Linked DNA regions of Homo sapiens: all the other regions are linked to region 3. Evidence: promoter capture Hi-C in 16 types of primary human blood cells and fetal thymus (Javierre and others, 2016). All regions are on one chromosome and are shown on one strand. Each heading gives the region's core, a stretch centred on a gene start or on the middle of the fragment in contact. The rest is flanking DNA. Distances are from core to core; before and after follow the strand shown.

Evidence for each region. Contacts are between HindIII fragments. The CHiCAGO score rates a contact against its expected background, and 5 or more counts as called.
Region 1: a contact is called between a fragment that was not itself captured here and the fragment with the promoter of RPS19BP1 in region 3, in 5 of 17 cell types (naive CD4 T cells, total CD8 T cells, naive CD8 T cells and 2 more). The highest score is 5.4, in naive CD4 T cells.
Region 2: a contact is called between a fragment that was not itself captured here and the fragment with the promoter of RPS19BP1 in region 3, in 1 of 17 cell types (activated CD4 T cells). The highest score is 5.1, in activated CD4 T cells.
Region 4: a fragment that was not itself captured here is called in contact with the fragment with the promoter of RPS19BP1 in region 3 in 1 of 17 cell types (total CD8 T cells); the score reaches 5.3 in total CD8 T cells.
Region 5: a fragment that was not itself captured here is called in contact with the fragment with the promoter of RPS19BP1 in region 3 in 13 of 17 cell types (naive CD8 T cells, naive B cells, total CD4 T cells and 10 more); the score reaches 12.8 in naive CD8 T cells.

What each region holds. Positions count from the first base shown.
Region 1 is chr22:39,959,077-39,964,684 of GRCh38, reverse strand. It overlaps GRAP2 (GRB2 related adaptor protein 2), which reads right to left. Exons shown (of 8, transcript NM_004810.4): 4 at 4,511-4,630. TMA7B (translation machinery associated 7 homolog B) reads right to left here and starts at 4,288. Exons shown (of 2, transcript NM_001396013.1): 1 at 3,766-4,288; 2 at 1-765. The coding sequence starts at 310. The coding sequence ends at 116. RefSeq lists an enhancer at 5,141-5,608. The HindIII fragment of the contact is 1,251 bases long and covers 1,620-2,870 here.
Region 2 is chr22:40,000,808-40,006,261 of GRCh38, reverse strand. All of the region lies in intron 1 of FAM83F (family with sequence similarity 83 member F), which reads right to left. Among named protein-coding and RNA genes, the nearest start is that of FAM83F, 8.6 kb to the right of the region's middle. RefSeq lists enhancers at 1-417, 418-919. The HindIII fragment of the contact is 1,169 bases long and covers 2,808-3,976 here.
Region 3 is chr22:39,530,266-39,535,294 of GRCh38, reverse strand. It overlaps RPS19BP1 (ribosomal protein S19 binding protein 1), which reads left to right and starts at 2,547. Exons shown (of 4, transcript NM_194326.4): 1 at 2,547-2,608; 2 at 2,772-2,900. The coding sequence starts at 2,557. RefSeq lists silencers at 192-281, 342-391, 257-551, 2,623-2,782, 2,963-3,092 and enhancers at 2,353-2,402, 2,453-2,512, 2,302-2,817, 2,818-3,333. The HindIII fragment of the contact is 8,920 bases long and covers 1,599-5,029 here.
Region 4 is chr22:39,919,993-39,925,114 of GRCh38, reverse strand. The region is part of intron 1 of GRAP2 (GRB2 related adaptor protein 2); the gene reads right to left. Among named protein-coding and RNA genes, the nearest start is that of GRAP2, 21 kb to the right of the region's middle. RefSeq lists an enhancer at 3,988-4,037. The HindIII fragment of the contact is 2,365 bases long and covers 1,575-3,939 here.
Region 5 is chr22:40,033,000-40,038,296 of GRCh38, reverse strand. It overlaps FAM83F (family with sequence similarity 83 member F), which reads right to left. Exons shown (of 5, transcript NM_138435.4): 5 at 1-5,297. Among named protein-coding and RNA genes, the nearest start is that of TNRC6B-DT, 8.9 kb to the left of the region's middle. The HindIII fragment of the contact is 9,682 bases long and covers 1-5,297 here.

The sequences.
Region 1 (5,608 bases), core at 996-3,495, 430 kb before region 3:
CCAAGACGACACTTAATTCCAACTATAGGTGGCAAAAGATATTATAGGAGGGAATAGAGAGGTTTAAATACGGATGAAATAAAGGGTCACCGTCTCCTTAGGCACAAGGAACAGCTTATTTTTTGCCAGATTTCTTAATTCCACCTGTGGCCAGAGGCCCCTTCCCCACGACCTTCGCTTTTAGCACCTCGAGTTTCTTCTGCTCCTCTTTTTGTTTCTGCTTGAAAGCCTTCTCTTCCTCGTCCATCTCCTTGGCCTGCTTCTTGGGCTGTTTCAGTGCCTTCTTCTTGCCACCTTCGTGGCTGGACATGGCGCCTGCCGCCCCTTCCCCAGACCCTGCCACTGGACGATAACTTCTTTTAGATCAGCACCTTTTGTTGCCAGTCTGGACTCACAAGTGATGGGACACATTCGAACCAGGGCTAGAGAAAATGGATTTTATCCATCTAGGAAGGGTGGGCTGAGCCTTTACCATTAGATCCAGTTTTACTTCATTGCCAAGTCATTCTCTTTTGGATGTAAAGTTTATTTTTCAAACAGACATACATTTATATCTAAAAATAAACTGGCACTAGTGATGCCAATTGCCTGATGTAAAAGAAAGGTCAAGAATTTTAAAGGGTCTCGGAGAGTAAAGATACCTCTGAGAGTAAGTGGAGGTTTCTTTTTGAGTCAGAGTCTCGCTCTGTCGCCCAGGCTGGAGTGCAGTGGCGTGATCTCTGCTCACTGCAAGCACCACCTCCCAGGTTCATGCCATTCTCCTGCCTCAGCCTCCCAAGTAGCTGGGACTACAGGCGCCCGCCACCACGCCCGGCTAAGTTTTGTATTTTTAGTAGAGACGGGGTTTCATCGTGTTAGACAGGATGGTCTCGATCTCCTGACCTCATGATCCGCCCACCTCAGCCTCCCAAAGTGCTGGGATTACAGGCGTGAGCCACTGCGCCTGACCATGGAGGTTTCTTAGGGATGGATTTAGGGACCTGTGTTAAGAAGGAGATGGAAATTCTGACCCTCAATCTCATCTTATGTGCTGGGATTTGCTCATAGCTGGGTGAAGCCACAGGTTGTACAAGTGGCCTCTTGCTTGACTGATTTCGGGTGGTAATCAACATATTGCAATCACTTTGTGGTCTTCCCCTTGGTTTTGGCCACCAACAGATACTTTCTTCATTCTAAGACAACATGGATCAACTCAAAGTCATTATCCTTCACATCCAGGTGAGGAGGAGAAAATATTCTTGTGATATTATAATTTTTCATCCACCACCTCAAAGAACTCAGAGTGTGAAACATTGACCCTTTTACTCTCATAAGCTGTAAGGATGGGTGTGAGGGTTGCAGCTGGTTATCTGGGTCTACAAGGAGAGGATGGCCTGACCATTGTCTCAAGCCTGAAGAGGAACAAAGGAAAGGATGCGACTCAGGGCGCTGGACTCCAAAATCTGGTGTTTCAGGCCCTTAACAAATGCTGAGTGATAGAACTACAATTAGCTCTTAATTATCTGTGCCCATGACAGATGTAAAAATAATTAATAATGATTTTGCTTTGGAAAATATTATACTACATTTCTGCAAAGACGTGATAAGGATTACGGTAATTGTCACCATAACTAGAAGCTTCATCGCCTGAATATCAGGGGAAGACTTCGGTAGAAGTCAAGGCCTACTGTTTTGTAGAACTCACTTTAATTAAGGAAATATAAACCATAGTTCTGGGTCCGGGCACAGTGGGTCGCGCCTGTAATCCTAGCACTTTGGGAGGCTGAGGCGGGTGGATTACATGAGGCCAGGAGTTCAAGACCAGCCTGGCCAACATGACGAAACCCCGTCTCTACTGAAAAAAACCACACACACACAAATTAGCCAGGCGTGGTGGTGCGAACCCATGGTCCCAGCTACTCAGGAGGCCAAGGCACGAGAATTGCTTTGAACCTGGGAGGCGGAGGTTGCAGGGAGCCGAGATTGCGCCACTGCACTCCAGCCTGGGCGACAGAGCGAGAGTCTGTCTCAAAAAACCAACGAAACCACAAAAACCATAGTTTCTAGCTGAAAAAGCCAGAGTCATCTTCATGCAAACCAAAGGCCCAAGAGATACCCCTCAGTCTAACAAATTACTTGGTCAAGTTTATGATGGGGTAAAGAGGGGAGGCTTAAGAAATAGATTTGACTTGTAATATATATACACGCATGTTAAATATATGTATAATTGTTTTTTCTAATAATATATGTATATAATATATGTAAATAATTTTTTTCTCTTGAGACAGGGTCTTGCTCTGTCACCCAGGCTAGAGTGCAGTGGTGCGATCGATCTTGGCTCACTGCAACCTCAACCGCCCAGCTCCAACAATCCTTTAACTTCAGCCTCCCAAGTAGTTGGGACCACAGGCATGCGCCACTGCACTGGGTTAATTTTTTATTTTTAGTAGAGATGAGGTCTCACTAGTTGCCCCGGCTGGTCTCCAACTCCTTGGCTTAAAGCATTCCTCCCAACTCAGCCTCCCAAAGTGCTGGGATTAGAGGCATGAGCCACGGCGCCCGACCCTGACTTGTAATATATGTTAATGGAGCGAAATTTCATTAATTAAGACCTAACAAGATTAGAATTTGTGATACATCAATATTGGCCTGAACTAAAGTTAACCATTCTCCAAGCTATGAAAATAAAGTTTTTACTGAAGAAAAGAGTTTAAGCAAGATTGCAAGGGCAATGCTAAAGAGACCACTTTAAAGGTATGTATGCATACAAATTGTTGACCTGTTATTTTTAAGTCCTTCCTACCTATCCTTTCAAATATCCATTCTTTCTAAACAGCAAAGTGGCCACAGTTTATTACTTGAGATTGGATTTCTGTCCTTAAAACAAAGCTTTATGCCTTTCAAAATATATTGAATAAACCAGATCGGTATTTCCTGCCAATAACTTGACAGTAAGGTTTTGCTGTACTTCTCCTGATCTGCTAACAGCATTATATTCTTGCAGTTTCACATGTGGTGAAGTCTGATACGTGACTTGCGATCCTCAACATGCTGACCACACACAGTGTGTTCCGAACTGGGCTTCTGAGTTTGGGGCTGTGTAATGTCTACGCGTGGACTGAGTCACTTCCTATGGGTTGCTGCACCTTAGTGAGATTTCGCTGTTACAGTCCTCCCCCACTCCTGGCCCTCTGTTCTGTGGTTTTCGGTCTTGCTGTACTGTACTGTGTTGAAGTAGCCTTTCTTTTTGTTCAGCTGCCTACAACTATACATGTATTTGTTGGGGCTCAGAAAACGACACCCCTTGGCATGCTGAGTGCTTCGAACCAAAGGAGATGGGAAGGTTTCAGAAGCAGCCTTGGAAGCAAAGTCTTCCTTTGGCCTTCTCCTGCCCTCCTGTCTCCCGCTCCTCTTTCTCCCCCTGAGTGAGTCATAGAAATTAGAATTCCTCTTCCCCACAGTGGGTCAGAGAGACTAGAAGGGTCACTATGGGGGAGGCCAAGGCAGGAGGATTACTCGAGGCCAGGAGTTTGAGATCAGCCCAGGCAACACAGTAAGACCTAGTCTCTACAAAGAAATAAGTTAAAAAAATATTAGCCAGGTGTGGTGGTGTGCACCTGTATCCCCAGCTACTTGAGAGGCTGAGGTGGGAAGATGGCTTGAGCCTGGGACACAGAGGCTGTGGTGAGCAATGATTGCGTCACTGCACTCCAGCCTGGGCAACAGCTGTCTCCAAAAAAAAAAAAAAAAAAGAAGACTTGGGACAGGCCTTGTTCAGTTTCCTACCTCAGTCTGTTACCTTAGATCAAACCCCCTTTGTCCAATCCCATTTCTACAGGGCTGTCTGTCCTTTGACAAACCTAAGCATAAAAATAGACGGCTTTCCCTGGGTCTTGGGTCTTCATTTCTGAAGGCTTCTGTGTCACACAAGTCTTTGATTAAATAAATGTGTCCACTCTCCTCTTGTTAACCTGTCTTGTAGGAGTGTCAGCTGTGACTCCTCTGATGGGCAAAGAAAGGTGCCACAACTTTTCCGCCCCTGTATATCCTACAGCAGTGACTTGAGATTTCTATTTTTCTCTGACTCTTCTTCAGATATGCATCAATCATAAAAGAAAAGGTTAAGATTTAAACCCCCAGATGGATCTGGACAAGTGGGAGTTCTCCTCCTCCTATCCCTCCTTCCTTCCACAAATACTCACTGAGTGTCTCTCTTTTATGCAAGACACTGTTAAAGGCATAAAGATGAAGTAGAGGAAAATCCTGCCCTTCCAGAAGCACCTGGGCTAGAAGGGGAGGCAGATGGGCGTAGAAATAATTTCAAACACACACCAGTGTTCTAAAGAGTGGTGTGTGCATGTTTTGGGAAGGCACTGGGAGCAGCAGGTTGTGAAGCTGCTGCCATGCTTGGCCCCTAGGCCACCATGCTTCTGACCATTGGGTCATATTCCAGAGGTCCCTTCATGGCTTCAGCATTCTGTGAGGTTAACAGGCCGAGAAGGGCCAAGGCAGTGTCAGGAATGGTCAGTACCTGACAGAGATGGAGAAGTCCCCTGGGGAGCTCTGGCTGGCCCGGATGATGAAGAAGCCAACCTCCTTGCCCATGAGTAAGTTCTCTGCCTGGTGTCGAGAGAGGCCTTCGTGAAACCATCTGTGGGGGCGAGATCAAACAAAAGGATCAGGATGAGACACAGGAGTGACAAGAGGGAGACGTGGAGAAGAGGTGACCCAGAGGGAAAGAGGCTGGGGACTCTGTACAGTAGGGAGCAGAGAGAGACCAGGTGCTGTTTGAAATCAAACCAGTGCTCCAGGCAGCTTTCAGGAAAGGCGAGGGAGCATTCCCCTTGATTCACCCTCTTTGTTCCTTCTCTCCAGGAGAAGTCTCTCTCCAGCCTGGGAAACGAATCATGGAAATGTGTCGCTGCACCAAAATGGGGCAGTGTGGGAGTGACTCACTGCAGGAAGCAGCCGCCTGCCGGCAGCTGCGGAAGAGATAGACCAGAGCTGCGAGGACAGAGGATGCACTGGGGAGGGAAGGGAAGGCTTCAGGCACTGGAGCCAACCAGGTGCAGCCGGCTGAGCAGGGCCTGGGGTGCTCATGCCTGCCCTGAGGTCTCAGTGGCCTAGAGGTTCCTCCCTGGGTATTAAAGGAAAGTTACAGCCCAGGGCGTCACGTTACCTAGGCTGGCATGGAGCACAAGGGGGCTTTGCTCAGTGTGCCTAGCAGAGGCTGCAGTGTTCCTAGGGAGTCCAGTGTACATGCTTGGAAATCAGCGAGGCTGGCAGCCGCCAGAGAGCGGCGTCTATACAACCAGATCCTGGGCCTGCCCCAAAAATCCAGGCTGGGAAATAATCTTTACTGTGGAAAAGAAGAAACAGGAGAAATTACTCTTTTAGCAGAATGGTCAGGGTGGCAGCCCCTGGAGGTACAGCTGCATACAGCGTGGCATGTATGAAATAGGTCAAACACTTACACAGGGCCAGGCAAGCTGTGGCTGCAGCCTCAAAGCAGGAGGCCAGAGACCTCTCTCCACCACAGACAAGCAAAATGAGTGTCTGCAATCACTCAGCGGCCAAAGGTGGGACTGTGTCACATTGCTTCAAGGTGGCTGCTCTAATTGCTGTCACC
Region 2 (5,454 bases), core at 2,143-4,642, 470 kb before region 3:
TAGCATCTTTTTTTTTTTTTTTGAGATGGCATCTCACTCTGTTGCCCAGGCTGGAGTGCAATGGTGCAATCTCTGCTTACTACAACCTCTGCCTCCCGGGCTCAAGCAATTTTCCTGCCCCAGCCTCCCGAGTAGCTGGGATTACAGGAGTATGCCACCACACCTGAGTAATTTTTATATTTTCAGTAGAGACGGGGCTTCGCCATGTTGGCCAGGCTGGTTTCAAACTCCTGACCTCAAATGATCTGCCCGCCTCGGCCTCCCACAGTGCTGGCATTACAGGCGTGAGCCACCGCGCCCGGCTACAACAGGGTCTTGTTCCCCACTTGGAGGCGAGGCTGCCCCCACCCCAGCAGCAGAGCATCTGTGCTTCGTCCGCTGGGGCTTCCCAGCTATCTGTGGCCGCGTTCCATTGTCTTGGACTCACTAATTAGACATCATAAAACACTGGGCTCCCTCCCTACACTGGCAGCAGCAGAGCCCAATTCCACCCAGCCAGGCCGCTTCCTCTCCCAGAGCCCTCTACCTCAGTGTGGGGCTCTGATTCCGACCCTGCAGGTCAGGTCTCCCTGCTGCAACCCCTGGGGCTCACTCCCTGTCGAGCTGATCCAGTGAGGCCATCACTCTCGACAAGGTTGAATGAAGGAGGGTGTATGTACAAAGGAGACCCAGGCTGGCTCTCCAGAGGAGGAAGACAGATGGCACCCATGTGAGCAAGGCCAGCTAATTCAGCTGTGAACAGCCACGTGTTGTGACCTGCCAGGGAGTAGGCAGAGCAATTCTTTGTAAGATCCTAGGCCAGCTTTTCCCTGCCCCACGGCAAGCTTCTGGGATGACTTTCCCGGCACTAAGTTGGTGTTAATTAGTGAAAATTATCTAATGCAAGCTCATTTTAACATTAGCTTAAAGCCAAACATAATTAGAAAGATAAATCAGTGGCTAAAAAAAATCCAAAGAAGATACACAAGCGATTTTTAGGATCATCTGCTGGTTGGTGTTACTAGCCTTGAGCTCTCAAGTACATGGACAGAGCGAGGCAGGGCTCAAGAAATATCTGTCGAGGTATTTCTTGATTGATCTATCAGGGTAAGACAAATGGAGTTGGCAGTTTGCCTGGGAGGTGCTGAGACGCAGCAAGGATAACTCTGTGGCTATTGCCAGATGATGTTACCTGGGAGGGCTTCCCTACGGAGGCAAGTTGAGAGTGCAGGGAGGGATATGATTGAAAGTGATCAGGAGGGCATTCAAGTGATGGAAACAGTGTGAGTCCACGTGTCCTGGGCCTCCAGTTTTGTACACAGCCTGCCCTGCCTTTCCACAACTGGCTGATTCAGCCATCAATTCCCAGGAAGCTGCTGTTCACCTGGAGCTCAGTACAGGTGCACAAGCCTGAGAATCGACACATCTCAGTTCCCATCTAGCATCCTATTTACTGGTGGTGTGACCTTATCCTCTCTGAACCTCAGTTTCCTCATCCGTAAAATGAAAAGCTGCTAGATTGTTGTAAAAAAATTAAATGGAATAGGCTAGGCGCGGTGGCTCACGCCTGTAATCCCAGCACTTTAGAAGGTCGAAGAGGGTGGATCACTTGAGGTCAGGAGTTTTGAGACCAGCCTGGCCAACACGGTGAAACCCCATCTCTACTAAAAATAAAAAATTAGCTGGGTGCGGTGGCTCACACCTGTAATCCCAGCACTTTGGGAGGCTGAGACGGGTGGATCACCTGAAGTCAGGAGTTCAAGGCCAGCCTGGGCAACATGGTGAAACCACGTCTCTACTAAAAATACAAAAATTAGCCAGGTGTGGTGGCACACGCCTGTAGTCCCAGCTACTTGGGAGGCTGAGGCGGAAGAATCGCTTGAACCCAGTAGGCAGAGGTTGCAGTGAGCCGAGATAAGAGTCACTGCACTCCAGCCTGGGTGACAGAGCAAGACTCCCTCTCAGAAAATAAAATAAAATAAAATAAAATAAAATAAAATAAAATAAAATAAAATTCTAAAAGGGCTGGCATTTGCCTAGCACTTATATGCCCAATAAGTAATAGCTATCAATATCCCCACCCCTACCACTGTGCTGAAATTTAGTTTCTTTTTGTCACCCCCCATTAGACTTAAGGCAGAATTCTCACCGTACTCCTCTGTAAATTTCTGGTTCCTGGCACATAGTTGGGTCTCAGTGAAACATGGTGAGTGAATGAGCAAATGCAAGGAATCTCCAGGCCATCTGGGAGCCCTCCCAGGCGGGTGAGTTCGGGAAACTCATAGTCTGTCCTCAATGGCCCACTGAAAGGTAGAGAGTTCTGGGTCCCACCTCCGCACCCCCATCTCCTGACTCACTGCTGAAAAATAAATAAATAAATAAAATAACACTTATCCGGAGCCTCCCACATGCCTTGCCAGGACTGCAAGGAGCCCAGCAGAATGATGACCGGCGTGCAAGCTGTGCCCCGGCGTGCATATGTTTCCAGATTATTGGAAACCTGGGCCAGAGAGACTAATAATTAGAAAAGCCATAGGCTCTCTTCCAGGGCTAAGATTATGGGATCATTAGCAAGTCCACAGACTCTGATTTCAGAGAATGAACAAGGAAACTGGGAAGGGCAGCAGCTCCAGCTGAGGCCGGCTGGTCATGGCACCTGGCATGGTGTGTGGGGGTGGGGGCAGGCAGGGATAGCTAGAATGACTCAGCCTTGGGGGTGGCTCAGGACACCCCCCCTGAGCAGGGGGCAGGTGGTCAGCTAGGACGCAGCCCTGGGCTCATTTGTTCTCTGCCCTCCTCCCCACCTCCCCCAGCTTGGATTGGAAGCTTGTCCCCAAATAGGCTCTGCTTTGCACGCTCTAAGAAAAGGGAGGCAGATCTGGCCACCAGCCAAGGTGAGGCAGCATCCCTGGGGGTGAGAAGATGGGGGGACTGACAGTTGCTGGGCTAGGATTCACTTCAAGGTCTCAGCCTGTCAGGGAGGGGCGTAAGTCCCAGGGGGCCAGAAAGTGGCCATAAAGAGGACAATCTAGGTCTCTGGAGAAACTACCTGTACCCAGCTTCCCTGTGTTACCTGCCTCAATGTCACTAGGCAGGAGGAACCCTCTTCCCCAGCCTTAGCACAGAGTGGACCAGCTGGCAGTTGTGTACTTGTCTGTCTCTAGAACTGGTCCAAGAGCCTCCCAGGGCCTGGCTGGCGACATACAGACTTTGAATGTTTCTGCAAGTTTTAGAGGAAGAGATGGCCCCAGAGGACAATTCCCAAGGGCAACTGCCGTGGATGGACACCACTTTGAGCTGAGACCTGGGTGGAATCTCCCCCAGCCTCTTCTGAGTTCTGCAACCTTATGCTTTCCCGGAGCCTCAGGGAAAATATCTCTTCCTTTGCAAGGTGCTGAGGGTTGGATTAACGAAACGAAATGGCACACAGGGCACCGATCCTGTCACTCAACATTAGCCCTTCTTCAGAGAAATCCCTTTTACTGCACGCATCACTCACCCTTCTCAAAGTGCTTTCTCATAGCCTTGAACTAGGTTCTCAGAACAATTTGTGGAAATAAGAAGGCAAGAATTATCCCCATGTTAGAGATGCAGAAACAGAGGCCCAGCAAAGCTAAATGATGTACCCCACGTCACCCAGTGAGCTAGGAAAGAGATGGCCAGGGCAAAAATGACGATTCCCAGGCTCCTGGCTCCCAGCCGCATGGGATCCCTCCACCCGCCAGTGGCCTGGACTTTTGGAGACCTCCACCCAACAGAACTGGCTTTGCTACCGTGAACCTTCAAGAGAAGGTCATGAAGTTTACTGAGGCCCCAACTTCTACTTTTGAACTTTCTGGGAAACACCCATCCTCAGAGGTTCAGGGACCCAAAGTATCGGATTTCAGAGGAGCCAACTCTCCCCTCCCTCTTCCCCAAAGAGGGAAACACAGCCCAAGGCAATGATTACATCAGGGTTAACCATCAGCAGCTCCACCCTCTTGTTCCAATGAAAGCTTTAGTTCTCCAGAACTAAAAGAACTTGGGGAGTCTTTCCAGGCTGCCCTGGGGCTCTCTGGGCTGGGCCTGTGCAGCAGTCTGGCCCTTCAGGATGACCGTGTGTGGGGAACATCCTCAGGGGACCCCCGCTTTAGGAACAAGGAAGCCTCTGCACCTTCCTGCTTTATCCCTCTCTGCCCATGCCAGATCCCAGCATAGATCCTGGGCTGAGGATTCCAACGCCACAGCCTCCCGAAGGCAGCTCGGAGGCCGGCAGAAAGCTGCCCTTACCAACCACGGCCCACCACCACCAAATCAAGGCAAACAGATCAATACAGTGAGCGGCTGGGAGGGCTGTGGGCAGCCACTCCTGTCTCGCTCAAAGGTGGAAACAGGAAACACGCCGGCACAGGGTCTTTGGCCCTCCCAATTCCCCTACCTCTAATCTCCTGGGTGGGGCTCCCTAACTTCTGGGGAGAAAATTTGGCCACCCTTCCCTCCTCTGCTCTGCAAAAAGGCAGAGATGACAGCAGTTACTTTCTAAAATAATGAACATTTGTATGATACTTTCCAGTATCCTCAGCTTTCACACATGGTTTCTCCCTTGTTTTTCTTATCTTTTTGGGTTTTTTTGTTTTGTTTTTTATTTATTTATTTTGAGATAGAGTTTCACTCTGGCACCCAGGCTGGAGTGCAGTGGCGAAATCTCTGCTCACCGCAACCTCCACCTCCCATGATCAAGCAATCCTCCTACCTACCCAGCTCAGCCTCCAGAGTAGTTGGGATTACAGGTAGACACCACCACATCTGGCTAATTTTTGTACTTTTTGTAAAGATGGGGATTTGCCATGTTGCCCAGGCTGGTCTCAAATTCTTCAGCTCAAGCGATCTGCCCGCCTCGGCCTCCCAAAGTGCTGGGGACATGAGCCGCCATGCCCCACCCTCCCTTGTTTTTCAAAGCCATCCAGGAAGCTCAGTATTATCTTCCCCATTTTATCAGCCAGGAGCTTTAGAGAGGGAGGTGATTTGCTCAAGGGAACACAGTGAGTAAGTGGTCAGATGAGGGCAGAAATCAAGACCTTTCAACTTCAGAGTCTGTCTTCTGTTTTTGACATGAAGCTGGTCCATTGCTCAGAAATGCCAGCTCCTGGGATCATTGATCAAGCATAAAAGAGAAAGACTCAGAACCCAATAGCCAATTCGTCCAGGGCTTGCCAGGAATACCTGGACAGGCCGGGGCAAGATCCCAGAAAGGCTAAGTGCTTATTCTCTGGAGCTGCAGCTGTGCCATTATCCACCAGCCTTAATGCAGCAAGGACTCTGAACTGCCCAGTGCCTCTGAAACAAAGCTCATGTGGCATGGCCACTTGCAGAAGGGTGGAACGATTAGGAGTGCATGGGGCCTGTGGGTCCCTGGGCTGCCTGAGAGGCCCTTCTTGCTCTGTGAATTTAAATCAGGCTTTTAAAAGGCAGCTTACGAGCTTCTAGATAAAGTCA
Region 3 (5,029 bases), core at 1,298-3,797:
CCAACCAATGAGGAAACTGAGGCACTCTTTGTTAAGGGATTGCTGGGGTCACACAGCTCCCAGCTGTCATTTGCACACTTTTCAGGAAGGGACCTCGCCCCCCGCCCTGGGCAGCCCAGCCTGGTGGCTCTGCCTCAGCTTCCCCAGCCACTCCTCCAGGCCAGGGTGAGAGTGGGAGGGGGTGCGGGACAGCAGGAAGCCGGGGCCACACGGTGCTGGCTGCAAGGAGCCAGCCGAGGCAGAAGGACGTCCGGACCCCCACCCCCACCTAGCCCGGGTGGGCGCAGCTGAGGCCTTGGAGTCTCGCCGCGTGAGAAAGCTGTCCTGCGGCGCCACCTATTGGCAGAAATGCGCCCGGCCCCGCGGATGTGCTGATAACTCCGCGGGAGGCTGGGGCAGCGCCTGGCCTGCCGTCCCGCCCGTGCCCGGCTGGGCTGCGGACGCTGCAGGGGTCCACCTGGCACGTTGGCAGAAAACTCCTCCACCCGGGGGACCGTGGGCTGATTCAGCCTAGATCGGGAGGAGGACAGAGCTTGGTCCTTTGCCCTCCTGAGAGGCTGACTCGCTGCACATCCCACGACCTCCTGGGCCTCAACCCAGCGGCTCACTGGCGTCCCAAACTCAGCTCTCATCCACTCATTTCGTGCGTTTCTGAACTCTTACCGTATGCCAAGCACTGTTCCAGGCGCTAGGGATATAACAATGAACAAAACAAAGATCCCTGCCTTGCGGAGCTTACAGTGGGGTATGGGCGGGGAAACAGACAATACGCAATACACATAATAAGTAAGACAACAATCCGGCTATGTTAGAAGCAGGAAGGAGGCATATGTCTGAACAGTCACTGGGTTCCAGGCCCCACACTCCCCTTAGGACAAAATCATGGAGTCTGAGGCCTTTGCGACCCTCCAGCCCAGCATGGCATCCTGAAGGGCCACTCGTGTGTCACAGGGGATAGGTCCTCGCTACAGCGGTCTCCGCCTAGAACAATCCCCGCTGCCCATACATGGTCAGCTCCTCCTCACCCTCCAGGGGCCTACCTGACCCCATGGCTTGACAGGCCCCACCCAGCACCACAGCACTGCTCTCCCTGGTGGCTGGGACAGGAGCGCCCCCACAAATCCTGCGGCCAGGCTGCCAGTCTTAACTCCCACCCCTGACTCCACCCGTGTGACCTTCGCCTCTCTGTGTTTGTTTCCTCGTCTGTAAAATGCAAAAGACAATTCCTACCTGGAAGGGTAGGGGGGATAAACAAGTTAACAAATGTAAAGCACGTAGAACAGCACAAATGCTTGAGTTTGTGTTGGTTGTTATTATTACTCTCTAGCCGATGGAGCTTAAACGGTGTGGTCTATCCCGGAGGACGAACTCCAGGTCCCACACTCTGTGGTGTCAAGTACACAGAAGGCCCTCAGAACCCGGCTGAGTGAACCCAGTGGTCCCTTCTGATTCACCGTTCACTTATTGCGTGTCTTCTCCATGCCAGGTGCTGGGCTGCCAGCTGCAGATGGAGCAGCGAACAAGCCCAGGGCTCCTCCCCCAGGTAAGCAGTGTCACTTCTAGGCCAGAGGGGCTCAAATGTTTTGGTCTAAGAAGCTTCTTACATTTAAAACTTCAGAATCCCCTCACTCCTGTAATCCCAGCACTTTGGGAGGCTGAGGTGGGCGGATCACTTGAGGTCCGGAGTTCAAGACCAGCCTGGCCAACATGGCAAAACCCCGTCTCTACTAAAAATTTTTTAAAAAGAAAATTAGCCGGCCGTGGTGGCGGGCGTCTGTAATCTCAGTTACTCGGGAGGCTAAGGCAAAAGAATCGCTTGAACCCGGGAGGCGGAAGTTGCAGTGAGCCGAGATCGCTGCACTCCAGCCTGGGCGACAGAGCGAGATTCCGTCTCAAAAAAAAAATTAATTTAATTAAATAAAATAAATTTTAAAAAATTCAGGATCCCAAAGAACTTTTGTATGTAGGCAACTGATATTTGCCATACTAGAAACTAAAACAAAAATTTTACATATTCATTAATTCACTTAAAATGACAATAAACCCATTGCTTGGTAACATAAACAACGTATTTTATGAGAAATAATTGTAGTTTTCAAAACAAAGATATGTCTTTAATGTCTGGCTTAAGGGAAGACAACTGGATTCTCATGCTGCACTCAACCTGTGCGATACCTAGTGCTGGTTGAAGTATATGAAAAACACTCCGCCCTGTCCCCATCCTAGCCCGCCACGGAGCCACGAGACCCGAGAGGATTGGCCAACCCGGCGGAGCAGGTTGCGGACGGCTTCCGGGGAAGGAGGGGACTGAGCGCCAGGAGCCAGGTAGATTGGGATTGAGTAACACATGTGTCTTTCTGCGCCTTGGACCCGCCTCCAGTTTCCGCCCCTTCTTCCGCTCAAGTGTAAACCCCTAACGCATGCGTCCTAAGAAAGATGGGCACTTCCGCCCATCCCCCTCCGGATCCCTCTGTTCGGGCTCGGGTTTCCGCCGAGACGACAGGGACTGCCAGGTCGGAAGTAGTGTGAGGCTCGTGGGCGGAGCCAAGCGCCGCCATGTCCGCCGCCCTGCTGCGGCGGGGCCTGGAGCTGCTGGCGGCGTCCGAGGGTGAGGAGGGCTGGCCAGGGGACGTCCGGCGCGGGCAGGAGGATGGTAGTGGCTGCGGGCGGGAGCCCTGGATGGAAAACAATCCAGGCCGGGCTTAGCCCCAGTGGCATGGGAACGCTGCGCGCCCTCTGACCTGGGTCTCTTCCTCTCTCTTCCCCTACAGCCCCCCGGGACCCTCCAGGTCAGGCCAAGCCGAGAGGGGCTCCGGTGAAACGGCCCCGGAAGACGAAGGCAATTCAGGCCCAGAAACTGCGGAACTCGGCCAAGGGAAAGGTGCCCAAGTCGGCACTGGGTAAGTTCGGGAAGGGGCTGAAAGTGCTGCCTCCGGTGCTGGGACCTGCGCCCCAGAGGAGGTGGCGCTTGAGGCAGGGCTTGAAGCGTTCGCCCGGTATTGCTAGACCTACTGTGTGCCAGGCGCGGAGCGGGGCCCTGGACATACGAAGGTGACAGAACACGCCACCGTCCTGGTCCTCGTGGACTACGGCCCTAGTGGGGAGAGAAGCATCAAAGAATATCAAACCCAGTGTGTCATTGCTAAGTGCATTGAAGCCTATGAATTAAAAGACTACGGTACTCTGATGGGGACTTAGGCCAAGTCAGCCTTCTCTGAGGAAGCGACATTTCAGCCGAGAGCTGAAGGATGTATAAGAGTGAGCTAGGTGAAAAGTAGGAGAATATTCTAGGAAGAATAGTATGTGCAAAGGTCCTGAGTCAGAAAGGAGGTTGTTGCCTTTGAGAATTTGAAAAAATAAAGGCTGGTAAAGGTGACCTAGTGAATGAGGATCAAAGATGGAGCATTTAAACACATTCACTAACACTCTGTACCAGGTGCTGATTCTAAGTGCTGTACAAATGTAAGCTCGTTTGATCCTTACAGCAGCCCTTTGAGGTCGATACTACTATCACCCCCGTTTTACAGATTCAGAAAAAGGCACCTGCCCAGGTGGTACAGGCATTGTGGCTGCCCGGGCATTGTGTCTCCAGAGTGCTGCTATTACCTACTCCATTGAAATAGGACATGCTGTGGCCTGGGCAGTGGCTATAGCAGCAGAGATAACAAGAGAATTGTGCAGGTGGAAAATATGTTAAAGAGGGGGCAGCAGAGAATTTCAGCCTTTAGAGGGGTTTTAGTGGTGAATTGGCTGTGAAGGTGGAGCCTAGTTTCTTGGGGGACGTAGTGTCACTTAATAGACATAAAGACTTTCGGAGGGGCTGGTGTAGGCAAGATGGTGATATTTTGACATGTGTCAGGACGTGGCAAGCTCTTACTGTGTCTGAATCCCTAGAGTCTAATGCATAAAAGATGTTAAAGTATTTGTTAAAAGAATTATGAATTCCAAGGAGGAAATACAACTTAAGCCAAAGTCTGGAGGCAGGAAAGTGAGACAGGTTTGAGCCCCAGCGATACTTGCCATGAAGCAGGAGTGTGGAGTGCCAGAGGTCATTCCCATCTGTCCCAGCCCTTGTCTCACTGTCGTGTCCTGGGTGCTCACCCACCTCCCCTGTTGGATGGAAGCTCCTAAAGGCACACACCTCCTTGGGCTTGTCCGCAGCCTTGGTGTCCACCACAGGTTTTGGCACATAGATGCTGAGTGAGAGGAATGGCAAGCCTCGCAGCCAATGGAAAGAACACCTCTGCAGCTGCCACTTTGCTCCAAGCTGCATCGTCTCTTGCCTGAATTATTGCAGAAGCCTAGCCGGTCTCCTGCCTTCCACATGCCCCTCCCCCCGTAATCTTGTTCTCAACAGCAACCAAAGTGATCGTGTAAAATCAGAAGTCATTCCTTGTTTTTCCTCTGGGTGGCTCTCATTGTAGTCACTAAAAGGTGGCGGTCTTAGGGTGCCTGACAAGGGCTATATGACCTACCCCCACCCCCAGCCAAACTTGGTCTCTTCCTGCTACCCACTCCCCCTACTCCAGCTGTTTTTGTTGTTGTTTTTGGTTTGTTTTTTTTTTTTTTGAGATGGAGTCTTGCTTTGTCACCCAGGCTGGAGTACAGTGGTGCAGTCTCATCTCACTCCAACCTCTAGCCTCCCGAGTTCAAACGATGCTCCTGCCTCAGCCTCCCGAGTAGCTGGGATTACAGGTGCCCACCACCACACCCAGCTAATTTTCGTTATTTTTAATACAGACGGGGTTTCACCATGTTGGCCACGCTGATCTCGAACTCCTGACCTCAGGTGACCTGCCTGCCTCGGCCTCCCAAAGTGCTGAGATTACAGGTGTGAGCCACCGCACCCAGCCATTCCAGCTGTTTTGTGTTTTTCAAACACATTTGACACATTTCTGCTTCAGGGCCTTTGCACTGGGTGTTCCCTCTACCTAGACAAATGCTCTTTCCCCGGATATCCACAGCTCTCTTCGAGTCATTTCAGTGAGACCTTCTCATTCCCTCCTATTTGAAATTGCACCCTCCACCC
Region 4 (5,122 bases), core at 1,508-4,007, 390 kb before region 3:
AAAGTCCTTAGAGTGGCATGGCATTCAAAGTCATCCTCAGTCTATCCCCACCCTGCCTGCCGTAACCCCCACCTGAGCTTTGATTCACAAATGTTCCCACCACTCTGCCTTTACTCACTCTAGCTCCTGACTCTTCAGGTCCAGCTCAAATTCAAGTCCATCTCCTTTAGGATTACTGTCTTGTTACTCCTGTCCTCTTCTGAACCAGTGCAGAGCTTACTATGTTGTTCATTGGTGACTATTAACTTCACTTTGTGGTTTGAGTTTTACTTCTCCAGCTACCTTGTAAGCCCCAGAGGATGGGAACCCAGCCTCACTCCTCTTTGCAGTCTATGGACTTAGCACATTGTCCTGCTCACATTAAATATTTGCTGATGAATGGGTATCCTACATTGTCACTTCTTTTTTTTTTTGAGACGGAGTCTCGTTTTGTCACCCAGGCTAGAGTGTAGTGGTATAATCTTGGCTCACTGCAACCTCCGCCGCCCGGGTTGAAGTGATTATCCTGCCTCAGCCTCCCGAGTAGCTAGGATTGCAGGCGCCCACCACCACGTCCGGCTAATCTTTTGTATTTTTAGTAGAGATAGGGTTTCACTATGTTGGCCAGGGTGGTCTTGAACTCCTGACCTCAGTTGATCCACCCACTTCGGCCTCCCGAAGTGTTGGGATTACAGGCATGAGCCACCGCGCCCGACCATGCATTGTCACTTCCGTGAGCCTACTGCGTAAAACTCATGGAAAGTACGACCGTGGTGATGATTGTCACAGTGCTACTGCCCGAAGTTCTTTTTCCCTCTTCTAGGAAAAAAAGCGAATCTTGGAGAGAGAGGCTTGGTATGATTACTTGGGAGTAATAAGAATGTGAAACATTTCTCCCGCGATTTATAAACAGTATTTTACATGCATTTCCTGGGAGCTTAAAGTTCATCCAGAATGAGTATTTCATAGATCAAAGGAGCATATGTGCAATCCACCAGGAGGAATAATCACTCTGCTAAATTTAAAGGGAGAATGATTGAACACTCCAGCCTGAAAGTAGAGATGGTTTAACGTCACATGGCTGGAGAAGAACATGAGTGACTTACTTAATTTCTGGCCCCCTACGTTCAGTTTTTATGGTACATACGCCAGTGAGCAGCACGTGGGATTTTTCATAAAAGAGGAACTGGCATTAAATCAATAAGGAAAATCACCATTTCCCTACTGATCCAATGGCATTTAAGGAAGCTGAGCCCTGCCAATATGTACAACTGTGCAGAATTTGTAACCGGGCAGTGAAAACCACCATCTAAGCTGGCAGCTGTGACTTTCCCAGAAGTAGAGCTGCAGGGAGAAAAGTAGCTTTTAAACTTCAGTTCCATTTTTGCAAATTGGATCTTTTTGTAAAAACTGTTTTAAGTCCAGATTTGTTTGTTGTTTTCCTTTTCTTTCCTCATTAGTAAAGGAAATGACTGTTTCTTTTTACTCAGATGGAAATTCAATCATTTACTCGATAATTGGGAGTCAAACTTAGTTTTAAGGGCTAGGAATGGAGATGAGGACAAAAGAGACAAAATCCCTGGCTTCAGAAAGCTTACCTTCTAGTGGGGAGGCAGGGGAGACAATTAATAATCTTGAACCGTAGATATATACTATGCTAGGCATAGATAACTGAAATAATGCTAGCATCTCATATTTGAAAACACAATTGCCAGAAAATGAAAAATGAAACCTCCTGCATGAATACTATCTTAGCTCATGTATGTCCCATATATTAAGAAGTATTTTAAAAAGAATAGCTAGTAAGAAATACACACATATTGCTCTTTGCACATGAAGTTGGCCTTCCCTACTGACCTTCAGCAGAACAGATGTCTCAGAGGTGCATTTCTGAGAGATGGATTTGTGCCAATCTATATATTTCATTCTGGCACTATCTGGCACCACTGCCCTCACAGTTATCCAGGCCAGAAATCTGGAAATTTCTTCTGGACTCCTCCGTGTCTTTTCCTCCCCTTTCTCAAATCTGGTATCTTCCACTAATGGGTCTCTAAACACTATATTTTAAATATACCTGAATTTTTTTTTTTTTTTTTAACTGAATCTCACTCTGTCGCCCAGGCTGGAGTACAGTGGAGCAATCTCGGCTCACTGCAACCTCCGCCTCCTAGGTTCAAGCAATTCTCCTGCCTCAGCCTCCCGAATAGCTGGGACTACAGGCGCATGCCGCCATGCCCAGCTAATTTTTTGTATTTTAGTAGAACGGGGTTTCACCATGTTGCCCAGGCTGGTTGTGAGCTCCTGAGCTCAGGCAATCCACCTGCCTCGGCGTCCCAAAGTGTGGGGATTACAGGCGCGAGCCACCGCACCTGGCCTAAATATACCTGAAATTGATTTCCATCTTTCCATCAGCCCTCCTTTGTGTGGGCTTTATCGTCTTTCCCCACAACCCTGGCATCCTACTTCTCCTTCCTGACTCTAGGCTCAAATACCTCCATTCTCCCCTCCTCATTGCTTCCAGAGTGATTTGTGCAAAACAGATCAGACTGTGCCATGTCTCTTCTTGCACTCTCCTCTGGCTCTGCACACCTGCAGGATAAAGCTCAGGCCTCCTAGCCTGGCCTTGGCTGACCTGGGTAGCTTTATGACTCTGCTCCCTTCCTTGACCCTGTGCCTCAGTCACAGCAGCCCCATGTAAGGCATGTAAGGTTACCTAAATTTACAATGTGCAAATCATCCCTGAGTGTTTCTTCTTGGACTATTCTCCTTTTTGTACTCCTCAATTCTTGCCATCCTTTAATATGGTGCAAATGTTACCTTCTCTGTAAAGCTGTTCCCTGAGCTTAATCCTCCCTCCCTTCTGCCCCAAGGGTACCCTGGCCTCATCTTCTCATTTCAAGTATGGCACCCAATGGAAAGGCATTTGTAATGATTTGTTTGCTTGTGTGTCTTCTCTCTCAAGCTGTAAGCTCTCCCAACTGAGAAGTATCTTCTTTGTGACTTTACAGCATAGCCCAGCCTCTGGCATACAGCAGTCACTTAGTAAATGTTGAATGAATAATGAATGAATGACCTATGGTCTCTTCTGGTTTGGCTTGTGCTAAACTATGCATCTGAGAATTAGGTGGTTTTGGCAATATGATGGAGTGAAACCAACTGACAATATGATGGAACTCAACTTTGCTCTTAAGAATAAGAAGTTTTGGGGAGGCTTAGGCTGGAGGATTGCTTGAGCCCAGGAGTTCGAGCCTGCAATGAACTATAATTGTGCCACTGCACTCTAGCCTGGGCAAAAGAGTGAGACCCTGTCTTGCAAAAATAACTAAATAAATAAATAATAAAAATAAAAACAATGGGTTTTAAACATTTGAGCTAATGGACCACAGATGATAAGGAATTTCAGTAACACATTTTCCTAGACAATATTTCTGTGTGTACTACATCTGGAGATGGTTCAAATAAATGATTAAAACATGTAAAACAGAACCATTAAGTAATCTAGATCATTTACTACAAAAGAGAAACTTGAAGAGACTTAATAATGGTTTTTAATAAAAGATTGTACTCCAAGGATGGCTAAACATCCTCCTTCTCCACAAACACAAAATAAGAAGAAATGAGATGAAAGCGCTTCAAAGATTAAAGTCAAAAACAAAAAGGAATTGAATGGTTTCCTGCCAGGCAGTGTAAACCCATTTCAAGTCACTATTACAGATAACTCACATTCGGAATCAGGCACAGCTCTAAATGCTTGCTATGTATTATGTCATCAATCAATCTAATTTTCATAATGAACCCATGCAAGTTTGTTTTAATTTTATTATTCCCATTGTACAGGTGAGGAAATAGAGGTTCAAGGTGGTTAAGCAGCTAACCCAGGTCACACAGCTGAGAAACCATAGAGCTGAAATTCAAATCCAGGCTGGCTGGCTTGTGAGGTTTTGGTCCGACTTCTAAGCTTCCTGCCTTGCTAGAGGCTGACATAGATGTCAGACCTCTGTCTGGGGATGGAGGCCTGAAGCTAAGCTCAAGAAAGCTCGAGAAGTTCAAGTGGCTAGCTTAAATTTAAACAAGAAAATCCTTGAATATACAAACGATTCTTCATTGCCAGGGCAACCAGCTCTCTTGAGGTCGTTACATCAGATTGTGTGTGTGTGTGTGTGTGTGTGTGTGTGTGTGTGTGTGTGTGTGTCTGTGTAGAGAAGTTAAATACCCATTTTTTGTATTCTTTATTCTGGTGAGCTGGCCTATCAGGTCTTGTCCTGCTAATGAGACAGTAAGTCGTTTTGACTTTTTTTTTGGCTGTCAGGGCATGCACGGTTTCAGCATCCACGTGTGTGTGTGTATTTATAAGACCTGACATGAATCGAGCCATATTTAGATATTATGACTTTACCTCCAGAGTGACGGAACTTACTCTGGGGGTTGGAGAGTCAGCATCTTCTTCCCTGTTATTTTTTCCAAGGCAAGCTTGTTTAGCCTGCCTCTGGGGCACATGAAGTGGGGTCACAGTCAGCACAGAATGGGGGCAGCATGTTCTGCAATTCAAATGCAACTCAAATGCCTGTGCCAAAGAAAGTCAACACTCATCTGATGGGCAGCAGAGAGGGGGCTCGAACACTGAGCTGCACCCCGGCTGCAGGAGGCCTGGAGGCTGGTTCCGGAGAACCAGGCAGCCCAGCAGGAGCCCCGTGAGAAGGGTGGGAATGAGTCACCAGACTTTTCAGGTTGATTGAGGTGATGTCTGTTGATTTTCTTTGAATTTAGATGTGTTATCAGTTCACACATTGGGCATAACGGGAAGAAGATGAGTGAACATTTTCTTGATAGTGCCTGACATTCAGCAGGGTTGTGATAAGATGTGGGGTAAGATATGACTCTGCAAGAATATGCTGGACAGTGTGTGTCCCCTAGCGTGTACCAAAGGAGCGGAGGCAGATGGACCCTCTTGGGAGAAAACAGTGTGACAAGCCCACTCTTTGTTCTCTGACAGACACAAGTTGGCCTGGGTGGATATTTACTATCTTAGGGCAAGGGGAAGAACTGCTAATTTGTCACACATTGTGTTCATGGTCTGGGAAAAGCACTTGCTTTTTTGACATTGGGTCCTCCACTACAACCAGATAGATTCTGAATGCTGTGG
Region 5 (5,297 bases), core at 2,385-4,884, 500 kb before region 3:
CATTCACTCCTCAGGTATCGGCTCAGAGATTACCTCCTCCTCCAGGAAGCCTACCCTGTTCTTCTCCCCCAGGTTAAGTGCCTCCTCTGGGCTTCTTTACATGCTGTGCTTTCCCATCAGAACACTTGCCTCCCAGTATCCATCTTCCTAACCATGTTCTGAACATTTGAAGGTAAAGGCCAGGTCTATCTTATCACAGTGCCTGGAACACAGTAAGTTCTCAATAAGTTCGTTTGAACAAATGAATGAACGAATGAATGAATGAAAAAATTAAATGTTGAGCAGGTGCAGTGGCTCACATCTGTAAGCCCAGCTACTTGGGAGGCTGAGGTGGGAGGATCACTTGAGCCCAGGAGTTAGAGACCAGCCTAGACAACATAGCAAGACCCCATCCCTAAAGTTTTTTTTTTAATTAGCTGGGCAGGGTGGTGCATGCCTGTAGTCCCAGCTACTTGGGAGGCTGAGGCGGGAGGATCACCTGAACCTAGGAGTTTGAGGTTGCGGTGAGTTATGATTATGTCATTGCACTCCAACCTGGCAACAGAGACCCCCATCTCTTAAAAAAAAAGTTGGTGAAAACTCTGGGCTCTGCAGGCATCTCAGCACAGGGCTTGGCACCTGATGGGTGCTTATGTACATTTATGAAATGGGTGAGAACAAATCCAGAATTTCTGTTCAGAAGAAGCCTTAGTGGCAGCGGTCTGGTTGGAGGAGTGAGACTAGTGAATTCCTCTTGACAGAACAATGACAAGGTAAACATGAGAGTTGAGAGTCCGTGTTGGGAGCGGAGGCATAAAGGAGAGGTGTCCTAGGCCAGAGGTCAGCAAGCCCAGGCTTGAGGACCAAATCCAGCCCACTGCCTGTTTTGGCACAGCCTGTGAGCTAAGACTGGTTTTTGCTTTTGTTTTTTTGTTTGTTTGTTTTTGAGATGGAGTCTAGCTCTGTTGCCCAGGCTGAAGTGCAGTGGCATGATCTCAGCTCACTGCAACCTCCGCCTCCCAGGTTTAAGCAATTCCTACGCCTCAGCCTCCCGAGTAGCTGGGATTACAGGCATGTGCCACCACACCAGGCTAATTTTTGTATTTTTAATAGAGACAGGGTTTCACCACGTTGGCCAGGCTGGTTTCGAACTCCTGACCTCAGGTGATCCACCCACCTCGGCCTCCCAAAGTGCTGAGGTCACAGGCATGAGCCACCGCACCTGGCCGGTTTTTGCATATTAAAAGAATATTACTACTTTGTGATACATGAAAATTATGGATTCAGATTTCAGTATTCATAAGGTTTCACTGGAACATGGCCACACCTGCTTGTTTCTGTACTGTCTAGGGGTGCCTCAGTGCTATGACAGTAGCTGCAACAGACACACTGAATGTTCACTTTTTGGCCCGCCACAGAAGGAGCTTGCAGATCCCTGCTTTGGCCGTCTAGCTGACCTAGGGGAGGAAGGACGTATGCTGCCAGCCAGCCACAAGGTGTCAGCCTCTCACCATGATGCTGCCAGCCGCGTGGGCTTCTCCAAGTTCTCCAAGGCTTCTCTCCAGGGCCACCTGCGCAGGACCAGGACTGTGGCCCCTAGACCCCGTCCCACCAGGCTATAGTCACTAGTGTGAAAGCCAAAGACATCAAGGCGGGGTGTGGAATCTACATGAGGAGTACAGGCCTGGCTTGGGAAGCCCCATGGCCTGGAGAAGGGTTGGCAGACTTCTCCGGACATGCTCTGTTTCTTTGATTTAGGTTTTATTTGTATTTTGTATACAAAAGATTCTCCAAACAAACTAAAATTGTTTATTTCACCACAAACTATCAATCCAGAAAGGTTGTGGGACTTTTGCACAACCAGATAAGACCGCAGCCCTCTAAGGATGAACCTGCATGAGGGGAACACAGGTCCCTGCCAAGCAGAGTGGCTCCGAAATGGCATCTCTGGCAGGTTTTCTCTCCCTTTCTGTCGAAACCTGGGCCTTGGCCAGGTGTGGTAGCTAATGCCTGTAATCCCAACACTTTGGGAGGCCAAGGCGGAAGGATCGCTTGAGGCCAGGAGTTCAAGTCTAGCTTGGGTAACACAGTGAGATCCTATCTCTACAAAAAAATATTGAAAATTAGGGCAGGAGCGTTGGTGCAAGCCACTACTACTACTAGCTACTTGGGAAGCTGAGGATGGAAGATCTCAAGGAACTCATTGAGCCCAGGAGTTTGAGGCTGCAGGAAGCCATGATTACGCCACTGCACTCCAGCCTGGGTGACGGAGCAAGATCATCTTAAAAAAGCAAAAAAGAAAGAAAGAAAGAAAAAAGAAACCTGAACTCTGTAGCTTCCTTCAGGTGAACAAGCAGTTAGCCCTGTGTGCCAACGATTCAATATGAAAGTGGTAAATTTCACAGGGAATTAAAGGGGAGGATCTAGGAGAGAAGATCCCAAAAGGAAAATAAGCCACTGGAGGTCACAACCCTGGAGGCTCCTCCGATGCCCAGCTGTTTGCGTCAGCCCCTGTGCTAGGTGCTTCACGTGGTTACTCTGGAGAGTCGTCTCGAGATCATCCCCATTTGACACATGAGGAAACAGGAAAGTTCGGGGATGTGAAATTGCTTGCTGGGGTCATTAGCTGTTCGGTGGCAGAGATAGGATTTCAGCCCTTGCCTGCCTGTTCTGAAGCCTGTCCTCTCTATGCCATGCGCCCCCGCCAAGGTCATGCAGGCATACCACTTCAATACCATGCCTTCCTCGCTCACCATGGATCCCCAGGCCGGGCACCCAGCAAATATCCACCGGATGAATAAATGGGTGCAGGCCTGCAAGCACTGCAGCGAACCTTTCCCTGTGCAGTCGCCTAACTTCCAAGACACTTCCAGGAAGAGATGAGGCAGAGAGTCAAAGCTGCGAGCAGGAAATAAGAATCATGACGCATGGTTTTCTGCACACCATGGGCTCTTTTCCCCTTGCTTGTACCCACAGCACTGTGGGCACCGCGGACATACTGCCTGTTCTTGCCTTTTGCTCCTTTCCTCCCCCAGCTCCCACGCGCTTGCTGGCTTCCGTGGCAGGCCCTAGCCCATCTCCTTCTATTACGTGGACATCTGCTCCTAAAGCTGCTTTTCAGTGGCTGCAGGCAATGCCCTAACTTCTAGCCATTTTTCTAAATGAAAACTTGATTCCAGCCGGCTGTCACTGTGAAAGTGCTCTAGGACGGTCCAGATAACCAGATTCTAGCCCTTCCTGCGACTCATTGGGTGACTTTGGACAAATTTCCTCACCTTGGGCCCTCCTTTCTATGCTAGCTTTTGAAAGGAAGCATGCAGACAGGGCCATCCTTGAGCAGCTAGAGGCCTGCAGGCCCAGTGCCACCTAGTCTGGACCACCCAGGAGATGAAGACCATGCACTTAGGACAGATGAAGAAAGGAGAAGCCTTCCTAGAGGAAAGGATTAGATCAGGAGGGACTTTTGATAAACCCAGTCCTTAAGAAATTAAATCACAGCAGAACCCCATTTGGCATATACGGTATTAGAAGTCAGGAATGAGACAGAAAGGGTCATGATCAATTCTAGAACCTCTATGACACATCCTGTTTATTCACCTGGCTAATTCTCTGTACTGAATGGCAGTCAAGTCTTCAATCATTTAACAAATAGGTATTAAGCATATATTGTGGCTGCAGAGCTGAGCCAGGCAGGTGAGGCACCAGTGCTCACAAAGCCCGCTCTCCAGGCTCAGGAACCCCAAGGACAGATGGGTACCTATCGTGCCAGGCAGCAGCACATGGCATCTAGAAGCAGGGCTTTCCTCAGTCCCTAGCTGGGAGAGCAGAAGCTGCAAGGGGAAGGGCGAGAAGTCCAGGCCTGCCTAACTGTGCAAGGTCTCTGGGCTGATCTCATGGTTACTTAGCCCCAGAACATACTCACGGCTGTGCCTGCCCTTCTTGCCCTTCTCCTCACTCAACCTTGGACTGGTTCTGCTCACTGAGCTGGGGGTACCTGATTTGCAGCAAACCTCCTGCCCCTGGAACAGCAGTGCAGACGATCAGCAGCAGCCACTACGTCCTTTGGGCAGGGAGGCAGGAGTGTGGCGCACTGCCAGATGAGAAATTGCATCCCTAGCGCACGGCAGGGCTAATTAGCTGCTAAGGGGGCTTTGTCAATGTTCACTGAGAATGTGGTCATGACAGGCAGGTAGCGATTCCTGCTTGGCCTGACTTGAGTGTGGAAGGCTCTCTGCTGTCAGCACTGGCTGCTTTTGGAGGTGGGTCCACCGCTGGGCACACACAGGTATGTGCAGTGGTACTGTCTGTGCAGGACGTAGCTGAGCCTGAAGGAAGAGGGACAGACTGGCAGGAAACCTGACAGGGAGCTGAGTGGAGTGAGGCAGATGTGTGTACATAAACACACCTGTCATGGGGAATATAAGGTGGTAAAGAACTAAGAAAGATAACCAGAACAGAAAGGAAAGATGCTACTGCGTCTCCCAGGAAGCAGCGTCTCAGGCAAGTCAGCCAACCTCTCTGGGCCAGGGTGCTGTGTCCAAGGTACCCAGGGCAGAGAGTGCATTGAAACACTTCGGAGAAGTGGCCTGTGCAGGCCACCAGGTCAGGACTGTGAAGAAAAGAGCCAGTGCTCTCAACGGGGGCACTTTTACCCCCCAGGGGACATGTGGTAACATCTGGAGACATTTTTGGTGGTCTCATCTGAAGGAGTGCTAGTGGCATTTAGTAGGTGGAAGCTAGGGATGTTGCTAAACGTACTATAATGCACAGGGCAGCCCCATCCCCAACAGAGGATTCTGCAGCTCCAAAGCATCACCATTGCCAAGACCCTGAGCTCAAGGAACAGACTCAGACCTGCATTCTCTGTGACGTGGGATCTGGGGAGAGTTGTGTGCCTCCTCATCTGAAAGATGGGGATAATGAACCTTAGCCAGGCTGGGCGTGGTGGCTCATGCCTGTAATCCCAGCAGTTTGGGAGGCCAAGGCAGGCAGATCACCTGAGGCCGGGAGTTCAAGATCAGCCTGACCAACATAGTGAAACCCTGTCTCTACTAAAAATACAAAAATTAGCCGGGCGTGGTGGCGCGTGCCTGTAATCTCAGCTACTCAGGAGGCTGAGGCCAGAGAATCACTTAAACCCAGGAGGTGGAGGTTGTAGCGAGCTGAGATGACGCCACTGCACTCCAGCCTGATCGACAGAGCAAGACATTGTCTCAAAAAAAAAACAAAACAATTACTTGCGCTTCTCATCATACAACCTTATGAGACCCACTCCCCCAATACACAGGAAAACTGTTACCTTTCTAAAGGGCTCTTTG